Linked DNA regions of Homo sapiens: region 1 is linked to region 2. The links are contacts of gene promoters, found by promoter capture Hi-C in human tissues and cell types (Jung and others, 2019). All regions are on one chromosome and are shown on one strand. The core of a region is centred on a gene start or on the middle of the fragment in contact, and the rest is flanking DNA. Distances in the headings are between cores, read along the strand shown.

Region 1 (6,650 bases), core at 2,737-5,236, 36 kb before region 2:
TTTATAATAGTTTAAAAATACCTTTTGGGGGTAGGAGGGGTTCTGGTTGCCCTTTTTCCTTGCCCTTTATTTCTGAACTGTACAGTGGCACTATTGGTAGCCAGTACCATTTGAGCACAAACTGCATTCCATTATAAATAATGTAGAACTTTTCAATATTGGTATAGCTTCATCTGTGAATAGTGTTAAAATTCTACAGGACTAAAGTTACAACAACAAAAATTGTCCTTATGTCTATGTAGATAGAAGAGGATATTTAAGAGATAACTACTTTTTTTTCTGAGACGAAGTCTTGCTCTGTCACCTGGGCTGGAGTGCAGTGGCGCGATCTCAACTCATTGCAACCGCCGCCTCCCAGGTTCAAGAGATTCTCCTGCCTCAGCCTCCTGAATAGCTGAGATTACAGGCATGCGCCACCATGCCCGGCTAATTTTTGTGTTTTTAGTAGAGACTGGGTTTCACCATGTTGGCCAGGCTGGTCTCGAATTCCTCACCTCCCGCCAGGTGATCTGCCCGCCTCGGCCTCCCAAAGTGCTGAGATTATAGGCGTGAGCCACCGTACCAGGCCAGAGATAACTTCTTACTGGTTTACCTTTCCTGTTAACATTTTAGAGCAAGATTACACATTCTCTGAAGGAAAATGCTAGTTACTTACAGGATTTAAGTAATAGTTGTATCTAACACCTGATCTGTATCAAAATGAGTCTCTTTTCTTAGAGTCACTAGTACTTTTCAATTCTGATCACTTTCCTATGTTGTATTCATGAAATGAACACAAGCTGGGGAAAGACATTATTTGCTACCAAGTGACAATCTTTTCAATCCTGCAAATAATAGAGCATAGGACTATACCAAGATTTCTCTTCTGTTGGAAGTTTTGACTTCAACTTCATATTCCAAACTGGGCTGCTTACTTGGGTGACATTACATAGGATGACTTTGCCCCTATAGTTAAGTGATTGCACCTTTAAACAGAAGTTTTCATATCATGGACATATTTTTAAATCCATAAGATGACAGATCTGGAAGAAAGACACTTATAAAGCTTCATAAAGCCACTGATTCTTTAGCTTTGTGGTTTTGCTTTATAATCTACATACTAACCCTTTCAGCTTATTAACATTCTTATAATCAGATATACATTCTTACCACATCATTTCCTCAGAGTTCTCTGTTTTCATGTAAAAATCCAATTCAACACAGTATTTAAAAGCTGCTAGCCATTTTTTAGACAAGCATCTTCCTGTCTTTTTATCTGTTTTTTAAAAATAATCTTGCCTTGAGATATAAATGATCCCAGAACTTTTCTGATATCTTTGTATTTTTATCAAAAGTGTTACTTTTTCTAAAATCAGCTAAATTTTTGAAGTCTGATGTAACTATTTTGAATTTTTAGAAAACCATGATTATTTACCAAGAATTGGAGTTTCTCTTCTGTAAGCAATAAAGAAAAATAAAGTTCAGCCACATCTTCGCTAGAGAAAATAAAAATGAAAACAAGGAAAAACAAAGTTTTACATGTTGTTTGATGCAAAGAGTGGAGAACTTGGATAGGAATGGATATTCACTCCTGAATTCTAACCATAGGCTGAAATCTACCTCCAAAGAGATAGGCTGAGTTTGCTTTTGGATCCAAGTGCACCAGCCATGACTGTGTTGACCTTATTCACGTGGCTTATTACAGACCAGTAATGGACCATTTTTTTCAGTTGCTGGCCTGGCAGTTTTGTTTTGGAGACAATTTTTTATTTCTGTGCATTAGCCCTGGGCACACACCTGGCTAAGTCCAGAGTTCTGTGTCTTTTTAACCTTTTGCTGGATTTCTCTGCATTTTCTACAGAAAGATTGTAAGTAAAATAGATGGCGACAAGGACGGGTTTGTCACTGTGGATGAGCTCAAAGACTGGATTAAATTTGCACAAAAGCGCTGGATTTACGAGGATGTAGAGCGACAGTGGAAGGGGCATGACCTCAATGAGGACGGCCTCGTTTCCTGGGAGGAGTATAAAAATGCCACCTACGGCTACGTTTTAGGTAGGTCCCTACTGTCTGGGGGAAAAAGCCTTGTGGAGCTGGCACCTTGAAACGTAACTGTTTTGTCTTGTAGAATGATTGTAGATAAAATAGACGCGGATAAAGATGGGTTTGTGACGGAGGGGGAGCTGAAATCCTGGATTAAGCACGCCCAGAAGAAATACATATATGACAATGTTGAAAACCAATGGCAGGAGTTTGATATGAATCAAGACGGCTTAATCTCCTGGGATGAGTACAGAAACGTGACTTATGGCACTTACCTGGGTAAGGGGCAAGATGTCAGCCTGGCAGGGACCGTGGTCTTGAGTCAAAGAAACAAATGGGTCACACAGTAAAGGAAAGGAAGCTTATCTTAAATAGTTCAATTCAGTGCTAAGCTGATTCCCTTTATTAATTTTAAATTTGTATATTATGTATTTTTAAATTTGTTTAATTTTTGTTTTCTGAAGTCTGGAAGTCTGGTATCTTCTACATTTTTAGCATTTTACATATATTTTACCATTTTTTCTTTATGTCATCCCTCATAGAGACAATTTTTGGAGTAGATTTCATTTAAAAGAATACATTGGGCTGGGTGCCGATAGCTCACGCCTATAAGCACTTTGGGATGCTGAGGCAGGAGGATTGCCTGGGCCCAGGAGTTTGAGACCAATCTGGGCAACATAGGGACACCCTGTCTCTACCAAAAAAAAAAAAAAAAATTTAAATTAGCCAAGCATGGTGGCACACACCTGTCCTAGATACTCAGGAGGCTAAGGTGGGAGGATCACTTAAGCCCAGGAGGTTGAGGCAGCTGCGAGCCATGATTGCACTGCTGCACACCAGCCTTGGGGACAGAGCGAGCTCTGTCCAAAAAAAAAAAAAAAAAAAAAAAAGAGGCTATGAGGCTACATACTTCCAACAGTGCAAAGCAAGGGGCTTTGAGATGTTTCTTGACATGGTCCCAGTAAAGTGTTGGACCTAAAATTCAAACCAAATTAGATTTCTTTATAACTGGTGAGAAGTCTTAATAAAATAGTTTTCCTTAATAAAATTTAACTATTTCAGTATGTCTGCTTACTGAAGTTTGGAAATGAAAATTTCCCATTTGTTTTCTCTGGCACATGAGTTTATCAGCCTGCTTTGCAAGTGCTTTAAGGCAAATAAATGTTAATTTGATTGCTTTTTGTTGATTTGATAGCTTGTATGCTTGGGCCACCTGTTAGTAATTTTCTTTTACTTGTAACACTTGCCTGCTGCTGAATACTAGGCAGTGAGTCTTATTGAGTTGATGATCCAGGGTGTTTTTATTTGTGAAATTCCTCTGTTGTACATGGTTACAGTTTAAGACAAGAATTGTATTAATATAAATGAATATAAATGGTACTTTCTCCATTTTAATCCTGGAAATTAGGCAACCTTCTGGGTTAAAGCAAGCGTTCTCCGCCACTGACTAACAGTGAGTGTATAATGGATCTGTTTCCCCACAGATAGCCAGCTGTCTGCATTAATTACAGGACTGCATGCATTTCTGGTGAAGAGACTTTTATTTCTGTGTCAGGCTTGTTCTCATTCCTAAGACTAAAGTGGCACTCTCTCTCAATGCTTGACACTTAGCCAAGAACCAAACATATCCTTCACCCAATTAAGAACACATGTATTAAACAGTCAGCACAGATGGAGAGGCATCCTGCTTCTTGCTCTGGCTGAGACCCAACACCTTCCTGATTTATTTGGAATTAATGATAAATACAAAGCAAAGAGTAGGCTATTGGTGATCTAAACAAAATGGTGTGTAAATAAATCTCAGCTCCGACCTAGGCACTCACTTGCTGCCCAGAATGATTCTTCGGTGCTGTGTATGATTATGTGCATAAAAATCTGTTGAGAGCTCTGTTGCCTCACAAGGCAGATGATTCAACGTAATGGGTATTTCTGCTGCCTGAGACTGCATAAGCTGAAGCACTGGCTGGGAAGCAATGTCTTTATAAGGCATCTTTCCCCAGAGGCATGAGGGTGGACAGCACTGAGGGGGTCATGAGTCGGCTTAGAGAAGTGAGGAGTTTTTGTTACTGTGTGTTCTTGATTCAATTTGGAGTTCAGGTATAAATCATCATAGCTCTTAGTTAAAATCTGTCTCAATGAATCCGCTATCCATGAGAGAAAGGTTAACACTGTCTCTGCCACAAGGAAAATATGAAATACTGAGATCTACCCTGCCTATAGCAAAACTAGATCAAGAGCCTACCTAAAGCTGTATACAGGCCAGCTAGGGCCAAAACTGGTGCTTAGGATAAATACAGCATTCCAAGCAGAGCTATAGGAAAATAGGTTTTGTCATTAAAAATAAAGTTTTGGACAGGCACAGTGGCTTATGCCTATAATCCTAGCATTTTGGGAGGCCGAGGCAGAAAGGTTGCTTGAGTCCGGGAATTCGCGACCAGCCAGGGCAACAAAGCCAGACCCCGTCTTTACAAAAAAAATATTAAAAATTAGCCAGGAGTGGTAATACTTGTCAGTAGTCCTAGCTACTTGGGAGGCCGAAGCAGGAGGATTGCTTGAGCCCCAGAGTCCAAGACTGCATTGAGCTATGATTGCATTGCACTCCAGCCTGGGCCACACAGAACAAGGACCTGACTATAAATTAAAAAAAAAAAAAATTGTATCTTCCTGTTTCCCTCCTTATATATATATGTGCATGTTGCTATTAGGCTATTTGAGTCCAGTCACCATTTTTACCTTTTACCCCAAGGAGGGGAGGAGAGCACTTATGTAAGAATCTAGTCTTAAAGTATAAGTTGTCTTGTTATGTTTCTTATTTATGTTACATAGTCCTGAAACCTTGTTTAGAAGAGACACTTTAGTATCTGAGAAAGGCTTGTTTGCCTTACGTTCTCCATCTCAACCTATTATGGCTTTGAGTGTGTGTGTGTGTGTGTGTGTGTGTGTGTGTGTACACAGGATCCCAAAGCCTTATGACTCGTTAAGCTGTCTGACTGAATTTTTGACACTCAATAAAAAATGAAGCTTCAAAATGCTCAACTCTCAAAATAGTACAGTAGTTTTGTTTTTGTTTCTTTAAACTGTGCTTAAAGTATGGAAAGACTGAACAATCTCAAAGGTCAGCAGTAATGATGTTATTCTTAAAGGGGCCCTGTGGGTCTTTTTTATAAAAGCAGTGTCATATCCTTTTTATGTAATCAATATGTTGCAGGAACAATAATTTCTTACCATTAATGTGGTGTCTTTTACTTTTTAAAATATCTTCATGTCTGTTATCTTAATTTGGTTTATACAGGAACGCAGATTGAAAAAGAATTTTATTTTCTGCAGTTAACGCCACATTTTTTCAGCTTAAAAAACTAAATTTCACTTTTCTATATTCTTATATAGAGACTAGATAACTGCTGCTTGTGTAGCTCGATGTCATAACAGATGGGTAGTTCCAAATTCAATTTGGTTGTAATCTAAGGGTTTTTTTTTTTGTATACCTTTGTCAAGTTATTATTGACATAAAGTGAACTGTATGTATTTAAGTGCATAATTGATGAGTTTTGACGTATGTATTTACCAGTGAAACCACCACTGCAATCACGATAATGAGCATATCCATTACCCCCCCAACATTTCCTCATGTCCCTTGGTAATCCTTCTCATTCTCGCCATTCCCCCGTCCCTAGGCAATCACTCATCTGTTTTCTGTGACTCTAAGTTAGTTTGCATTTTCTAGAATTTTACGTAAATGGGGATGAACAATACCTGTCACTCTTGGTAGATTTCTGCGTTGACTGAAAAAAAACAGAATGTGACCTTCAAAGTGGTGGCATTCTATTGCTTGAATCCAAGTGTCCATTATGTGAGGTAGAAGGCCTTTGATTTCTATCTTTTTAATGAGATCCTAATGTTTAATAAAAGTAGCAATAACTGACATTTGTTGAAAGCCAACTATGTGCCAGGCATTGTTCTAAGCACTTAGATATATTTTCTCATTTAAACCTTACAACAATCCTATGAAGCCGGCACCATTGCTAGCTCCATTTTACAGATAAAAGAGACCAAGACACAGGCCAAACAGCTAGAAAATGGTAGAGTTCAAACTCAGGCAGTATGGGACTTGAGAGCCACCACTGCCTTCCAGATGTAACTAGAAAATTCAAGCCTTCTAGTAGCCTTAATACCAATAGTGAAGCATAACAGTGAGTTACATAGTTCAGGAGCCAGAGTTCCATGTGAACTTGGAGCTGACTCTGAGATCTGATGCCTGGAGCTGTAGCCCAAAACTAAATGTCTTTGTACTGCTGCAGTTTTACCTGTGTCATCAATTATTTCTTCCTTGCATGGTTTTATCTTTATTGGAAATTGATTTCCCACCCCACACATTTTCATGTTTTCTGAAAGTCTTTTAAGATTTGACCTAAATTTTTGTTTTCTAGATGATCCAGATCCTGATGATGGATTTAACTATAAACAGATGATGGTTAGAGATGAGCGGAGGTTTAAAATGGCAGACAAGGATGGAGACCTCATTGCCACCAAGGAGGAGTTCACAGCTTTCCTGCACCCTGAGGAGTATGACTACATGAAAGATATAGTAGTACAGGTGGGTGAGATGAAGGATTCTGAACAGGGACTCA
Region 2 (6,918 bases), core at 1,109-3,608:
CCTAACCTTCAGGAAACTGGGCAGAGCCCGGACAACCCGGAGGGCCTGGTGCTGTTACAGACAAATAGGGGCGAGCACCACAAAAGCGCCTAGTGGGGCAGGGATGGGGTGCCAGTCAGAGAAGGCCACCTGGAGGTGACCCCCAGCTGAAAAGGAGGGGGAAGTCCAGGCAAAGAAGGGCTTCCTTCCCGTGGAACAGGGATGGCTTGTGGACGTGGGAGCCTGTGGGATGTCAGAGACATTTGAGCCAGAGCAACTCCATCTTGAATAGAAGCTGGGTAAAATGAGGCTGAGACCTACTGGGCTGCATTCCCAGACGTTTAAGGAATTCTAAGTCACAGGATGAGATAGGAGGTTGGCACAAGACACAGGTCATAAAGACCTTGCTGATAAAACACCTTGCAGTAAAGAAGCCGGCCAAAACCCACTAAAACCAAGATGGCAGTGAGAGTGACCTCTAGTAATCCTCACACTGTTACACTCCCACCAGTGCCATGACAGTTTACAAATGCCATGGCAACATCAGAAAGTTACCCTACATTGTCTGAAAGGGGGTGTCAGGAATAAACCACCCCTTGTTTAGCATATCATCAAGAAATAACCAAAAAAAGCAGCCCTTGGGGCTGCTCTGTCTATGGAGTAGCCATTCTTTATTCCTTTACTTTCCTAATAAACTTGCTTTTAGTTTATCCTATGGACCTCCCTGAATTCTTTCTTGCGTGAGATTCAAGAACCCTCTGTTGCGGTCTGGATCCGGATCCCTTTCCTGCAGCGGGGGGAACGCAGACAATACTAGCCCTCGACCTGTGAGTGGATGTGCCAGAGAGGGGATCCGCGTGTGTCCCTGGCTTAGGAATCTTCCAGCCATTTCCTGGATGTGCTGGGGAGCCCCTGTTCCCAACTGTGCCCACTTCTATCCTTGCCGAGACCTGCCGAGATGTGAGAACTGCCTCTTCAAGAGCCGGCACCCAGTAGTCATAGCCTGAATAAACGAATGGTTGAAGACGTGAAATAAGCCCCCTGGGCTTCCAAATCTCCCTTCCACGAGAGTGAACATCAGTCGTGCCCACTCTGAGCGGGCTACTGTGGGGGCGTGGCTCGCAGCCCACCGGGTGTGGGACCGGAAGGGAAGACAGGGCGGAGGAGAGGGGGTCTTCCGGCCCTGAGGCTTGATGGGGCCACCGGAGGGCTCCTCCTAAGAGGGTCCTTGGCCCTGGCTCGGTGGGGGGTCGCGGAAAGCGGAGAGGTCAGGGCCCTGCCGTTCGCCCATCCGGGCCTCGACTTCCCTCCTCCGGCCCCCAGGCTGCCGAGGGGCCACCGGGCAGGGGTGGGCAGGGCCTGGGGCCGGAGTCAGCGCGGACTGCTAGGTGGGGGCGCCGGCCGGGCGGGGGAGGGAGGGAAGGAGGGGCGCGCGTGTCTGCGCTTTTGGAGGAAACAGTCCCACCTCGTCCTTTGCCGTCCCCATTGCTGAGCATGACCGGGCCCTGACACCTGGTGCAGAAGGGTCCCTGGGCACAGCAGACCCCGGGGGGACCCGCCGCCAGAACCAGGGGATCTCGCTCCTCCCTCTTGGGGCAGCCATAAGCCTAGGAGCTCCTGACGCTGTCCGGGCCCCGCGGCTCCCCGCGCTCTCTAGGGGAGAGCCTTGGGGCGTATCCGGGGTCGCGCTCACCCTCCCGCGCCGCCCCCTGCACGGGCTCGGAGCTCCCGAGTGCTGGGAGGGCTTCCGGGCGGCGGCGAGCGGCGGGGGGCGGTGTCAGGAGGCCCGGCCAGGCCCCGCCCCCTCGTCCGCCCTCCCTCCCTCCCTGCGCACCCGGCTCGGGTCCCCGGGCTCGCGGCTGCGGCTTCTGCTCAGGGAGGCGGAAGGCGGCGGCGGGAGCGGTCATGGAGGCGGGCGCCGGAGCCGGCGCGGGAGCCGCGGGCTGGAGCTGCCCGGGCCCAGGTCAGAGCCGCCCCTCCGTCACCTGTCTACCGCCCCTCCTTTCTCTCCTCCATCCCTCCTCCTTCCAGACCCCCAGGTGCTCCCGGCCTCCGCGGCTCCCCTTTCTCCGCCCAAAGTCTTCCTCCCTCCATCCTGGCCTCCACCGGGGCCCGGTCTCCATCCTTCCGGCCTGGGACTGAGGCTTCCGCGCACCGGCCGCATCCTGCCTGGTGGTCCCTCCCCAGCGCGTCTCTCCACTTCAGTCCGACGGTGCTTCCAGCCTTCGGGACTGCAGACCCTACACCTCCTGCAGCCCCGGAGACTCCTGAGCGCGGGGCGAGGGTGGGGTGGGCAAGGTCCAGCGAGAGAATGGGAGGAGAGGGGAGGGGAGCGGTCGCAGCCCTACCCCTTCCCGCACGCCCCCCACTCCTCCCTCCCTCCATCTGTAGGCCACCTCAGCCTTTCAGCCTCTTCTTCACTGGCTCCCGCCCTCTTTCAGTCTTGGCCCTCTCCTCCCTGTCCCCCCGGACTAAATACGCACACCCCCTCTTTCTTTCTGTGCAAGCAAGAGGGTCCTGGAACAGCGGGTTCTGAGGAGGCTGGGAGGCAGGGCTGAGAGGTGGCCGAGAGAGAGGAGTCGCAGAGCCGCCAGAGTGAGTCAGGCACCTCCACTGGGATTACAGATCCCAGAGCCTCGAGGAGCTGGAAGACATGTCCCCTTCTTTCCTCTGCACCCCAGCCCGCAGCCAGCCCCCCACCCCCCAGCCCCTCCTTTCTCCCTGCTCTCAGGACCCACAGTGACCACTCTAGGCTCCTATGAGGCTTCCGAGGGCTGTGAGAGGAAGAAGGGCCAACGCTGGGGGTCCCTGGAACGACGGGGGATGCAAGCTATGGAGGGTGAGTTTTCCCAAAAGGCTTCTTTCTTTCCCCTCCCCTCCTCCCTTAATTCCCTTCTTTCCTCCCTCTGACCCCCAGGCCTCTGAGCCAGGACACAGCCCTTCCCTCAGTTCATCTTAGCCCCTCTTCCTGCAGCTCAGAGCTCCAGCCCTTCCCAGGGCTCAGGCTTTGACAGAAGTTCAGGATGCATCCCTTCGGGACCCCAATCACCCCCCAGCTAACCAGGTTATGTGTCCCGAGGGAGCTGCCAGACAGAGAAAGAGGCCTTGTTGGACAGAGCTTTGAAGCAGCCTTTCAGCAGGGGGTTTGTCCTCACTGCCTGCCGACCCAGATCCCAAGCTGTCTCTTATTTTAAAAAGCAAGGAACTGGGCATGTGAATTGTCTTTCTGGGGCCACCAACATTAACTTCGAATGGAAGCCTGTGGCTTTGGTTCTTTAGGATACCTTATTGCCTGAAAGAGAGAGCCTAGGAGGGGGCGCGTGAGGCCATCCTCCCAACACACGTGTATCCCCACCACACCCATGTGACTTGGCAGTTGCTGCCAACACCAGGCCCCTGGAAGGACGCTGGTCCATTTGCCAGTACTTCCTGTGAAGTGTTGCACGTTGCACATTCAGTATGGGCAAACCTGCTCCCCCTAAGGGGGACAGATGGCACGAAGGGTCCCAGTTGAACCTAAGGCTGCTGATATTAGATAAAGTAAGACCAGAGATTCAGAATTTTAAAACAAAGCAAACAATCACCATCCAGACAACATTTTGCTATTTATAGGGACTGCGTTGCAGTAAAGGAGCGGGTGCTCACAACCAGAGGCTGGGGGCCAGCACCAAACCCCAGTTTTTTTAATGCATTAAAATGGTAGGCTTTCTTTTACACACAAGTACAGCCTAAAACTTCCCCTGAAATCTACTTTGTGGTCAGCAGAGTAGGAGGGGCCTCATATGGCTCAGCTAGGGGAGAGGAGACCTTGTGACATGCAGCAGGGAAAAACAAGGTGGACCTTGTAGAAAATTTCAAACAGGTATTTAATAATATACATTTGAAAGGGCGCCCGAGTTTGTCCAATGAAACCTCTACAATCAGATATTTTCTTTCTCTACCTGCTGACGGGCAATGTTTTCTTATTATGGAAAGGCTGATTTTTCACAAGCCACCTGGATAGTTTTTGTTTGGTTGTTTTTGTTTGTTTGTTTGTTTGAGACGGAGACTCACTCTGTTGCCCAGGCTGGAGTGCCAGTGGCTCGATCTCGCCTCACTGCAACCTCCAGTTCCCAGGTTCAAGCGATTCTCCTGCCTTAGCCTCCCAAGTAGCTGGGATTACAGGCGTGTACTACCACGCCCAGCTAATTTTTTTGTATTTTTAGTAGAGAAGGGGTTTCACCATGTTGACCGGGCTGGTTTGGAACTCCTGGCCTCAAGTAATCCACCCACCTCAGCCTCCCAAAGTGCTAGGATTACAGGCATGAGCCAGCATGCCTGGTCAGTTTTGTTTTGTTTTTTAACTTTCAAGAAATCTCCAAACTGTAACTGTTACCCCATTTGACCGAAAGATCCGCTCACTGTCTCCTTTCTTGACTACTTGTCCTGCTACTCAGAGGCCAGCCTAGAAGAAGCAGGTAATCCTGTGCAAGTGTCTCATGGCTGAGCGGGCACCAGCCTGCCCACAGGCAGTGATAGGAGGCTACCAAGTGCAACATTGGTCCAGGAAGGGCCTGGGAGGTGGAGGGGCTGCTTCTCAACTTGACTCTCACACCTGAGGACTCATCTTGAGTACAGGTCTTGCCCCGGGGCTCCTTGGGGGACACCAGGTGGCACTAGTATGTCATCTCTGCCCTGGCATAGTGAGTTTGAGGGCCCTGGAAGGACGGCAGAAAGGAAGTTGATGCTGACTCCTTGGTGGGATGGCTGTGTCTCCTAGGGGAGGTGTTACTCCCAGCTCTCTATGAGGAGGAAGAGGAAGAGGAAGAGGAGGAAGAAGAGGTGGAAGAAGAAGAAGAACAAGTGCAGAAAGGTGGCAGTGTTGGCTCTCTGTCAGTCAACAAGCACCGGGGACTGAGCCTCACGGAGACAGAGCTGGAGGAGCTGCGGGCTCAGGTGCTGCAGCTGGTGGCAGAACTGGAGGAGACCCGGGAACTGGCAGGGCAGCATGAGGATGACTCCTTGGAGCTACAGGGTGAGTGCCTGGGCCAGGGCCCAGTGCCCGGGCCCAGAGGCTCTGCACTCCCCTGGATCCGAGCTTGACACTGGTGCCCCTCTCCCTGCAGGGCTCCTGGAGGATGAACGGCTAGCCAGCGCCCAGCAGGCAGAGGTGTTCACCAAGCAGATCCAGCAGCTCCAAGGTAATTCCCAGGACTTGGACTGGAGGGAGGTGGCCATCCAAGTGGTCACCTAAGTACTTTTTTCCTGAGGGTTTGACTGAAGCACAGCAGATAAAAATAACCAAATTCAGTAATTTCACCTCATTTTCCTCTACTAGTCTCACCCTTTTCCTCTCCTTGTCTCTCCATCCTCCTCTGTCCCCAGTTTTCTTTCTTTGCACATCTACCTGGCTCTTCTGTCCTCCCCTTCCATTTCTTGGCCTCCCTGTCACCTCCTGTCCCTGGTGGGCTCTTTCCTCTTGCCCCTTCAGCCTCCTCCTTCATACTGCATCCCTGTCCCTTTGTTCTCCTGGTCAGTGCCAGGGGTGGGTGATCCAAGTTGAATTCCAAGCCGGATTCCTTTTTCTGGTTCCTCCAAGGATGGCATGGGAAAGCATGAAGCCAATGAGAAGTGACTGGTGGGGCCTCTCTGCACCTATTAAGAGAGACAGATGACAGCACTTCTGTTGCTGCCTGGGACCTGAGCTTGTGGGCCCCAAATCCCTTTTTGCCAACACCCACGTCCCTTTGTCTCTGGGAAGCAGCAAGGCAGATGCCCCACATTCCACCACACCACCAAATAAAGAGGCAGCTTTTGTTACTTCTGTGGGCCTCCGGAAGGTTTAGGGGAGCTGCCCTAGAAAACGGCAGGGACTCTGGGGAGAACTGAGATCAAGCCAAAAGAAAAGTATAAATGGAGAAAAAAAAGGAAGGCCAGGAAGCAGGCCTGGACAGGAGCAAGCAGAGGTGTAAGTGGGGAGGAGAGGAGACGGGGACAGAAAATGTAAGCAAAGGTAGATACAGGAAGGGTGGTCAGTGAAGGGGCTTGCAGAGGAGGAAAGTGGCAGGACACGTGTCACATAGGGAAGAGTGTGGGCATTGATCTGGGATGACCTAGATTCCTGGGCCCAGCTATACCACTTAGAAATTGTGTGATCTTGGGCAAGTCACTTATCTTTCTGAGATGTCATTTCTTATCTGTAAAATGGGACTAATTTATTTATCACCTATTTATGAGGTGCCTTTATACTTGGAGGACCAGCTGTGAATGAGACAGACCACATCTCTGCCCTAATGAAGAGTACATTCTAACGGAGAGAGGCAGAAAATAAACAACACAAGTTCAGATGGCAATAAATGCTATGAACACGATATAATAATATGATACAGAGAGGAGGTGGGATGGGAGTTTATTTTATTTTATTTTGAGACAGAGTCTTACTCTGTTGCCCAGGCTGGAGTGCAATGGCACAATCTCAGCTCACTTCAACCTCTGCCTCCCAGGTTCAAGCGATTCTAGTGCCTCAGCCTCCCGAGTAGCTGAGATTACAGGCATGCGCCACCACACCTGGCTAATTATTGTATTTTTAGTAGAGATGGAGTTTCACCATGTTGGCCAGGCTGGTCTTGAAGGGAGTTTATTTTAGATATGGCAGTTAGGAAAGTCATCTTTGAGAAGATGACATTTGAGCTAAGACCTGAATAATGAAAAGGATCCAGCCATCCAAGATCTGAGGGAGGAGCATACCAGGCAGAAGCAACAGCAACTGCAAAGGCCCAGAGGTGAGAATGAGCTTCATTTGTTTGAGCGACAGAACAGAGGCCACTGTGTTTGCAGCAAAGTGCACGTGGAGGACCCTGGCAAGAGAACGTTCTGAGGCAGGCAGAGGCCAGATTACAGTGGATCTTGTAGGCCAGCCAAGAGGTTTGGCTTTCATGTTAAGTGTGGTAGAAAGCCAGG

Evidence for each region. The method cuts DNA at HindIII sites, captures the fragments that hold promoters and counts their contacts. A contact is called where the count stands out against the background at its distance.
Region 1: a fragment that was not itself captured here is called in contact with the fragment with the promoter of CCDC136 in region 2 in 4 of the 25 tissues and cell types used here (aorta, hippocampus, lymphoblastoid cells and 1 more).

What each region holds. Positions count from the first base shown.
Region 1 is chr7:128,752,422-128,759,071 of GRCh38, forward strand. CALU (calumenin) reads left to right here. Exons shown (of 7, transcript NM_001219.5): 3 at 1,841-2,034; 4 at 6,450-6,616. Among named protein-coding and RNA genes, the nearest start is that of CALU, 16 kb to the left of the region's middle. The HindIII fragment of the contact is 4,544 bases long and covers 1,715-6,258 here.
Region 2 is chr7:128,789,610-128,796,527 of GRCh38, forward strand. It overlaps CCDC136 (coiled-coil domain containing 136), which reads left to right and starts at 2,359. Exons shown (of 18, transcript NM_022742.5): 1 at 2,359-2,818; 2 at 4,739-4,993; 3 at 5,085-5,159. The coding sequence starts at 2,803. RefSeq lists silencers at 1,466-1,935, 1,474-1,742. The HindIII fragment of the contact is 16,505 bases long and covers 1-6,918 here.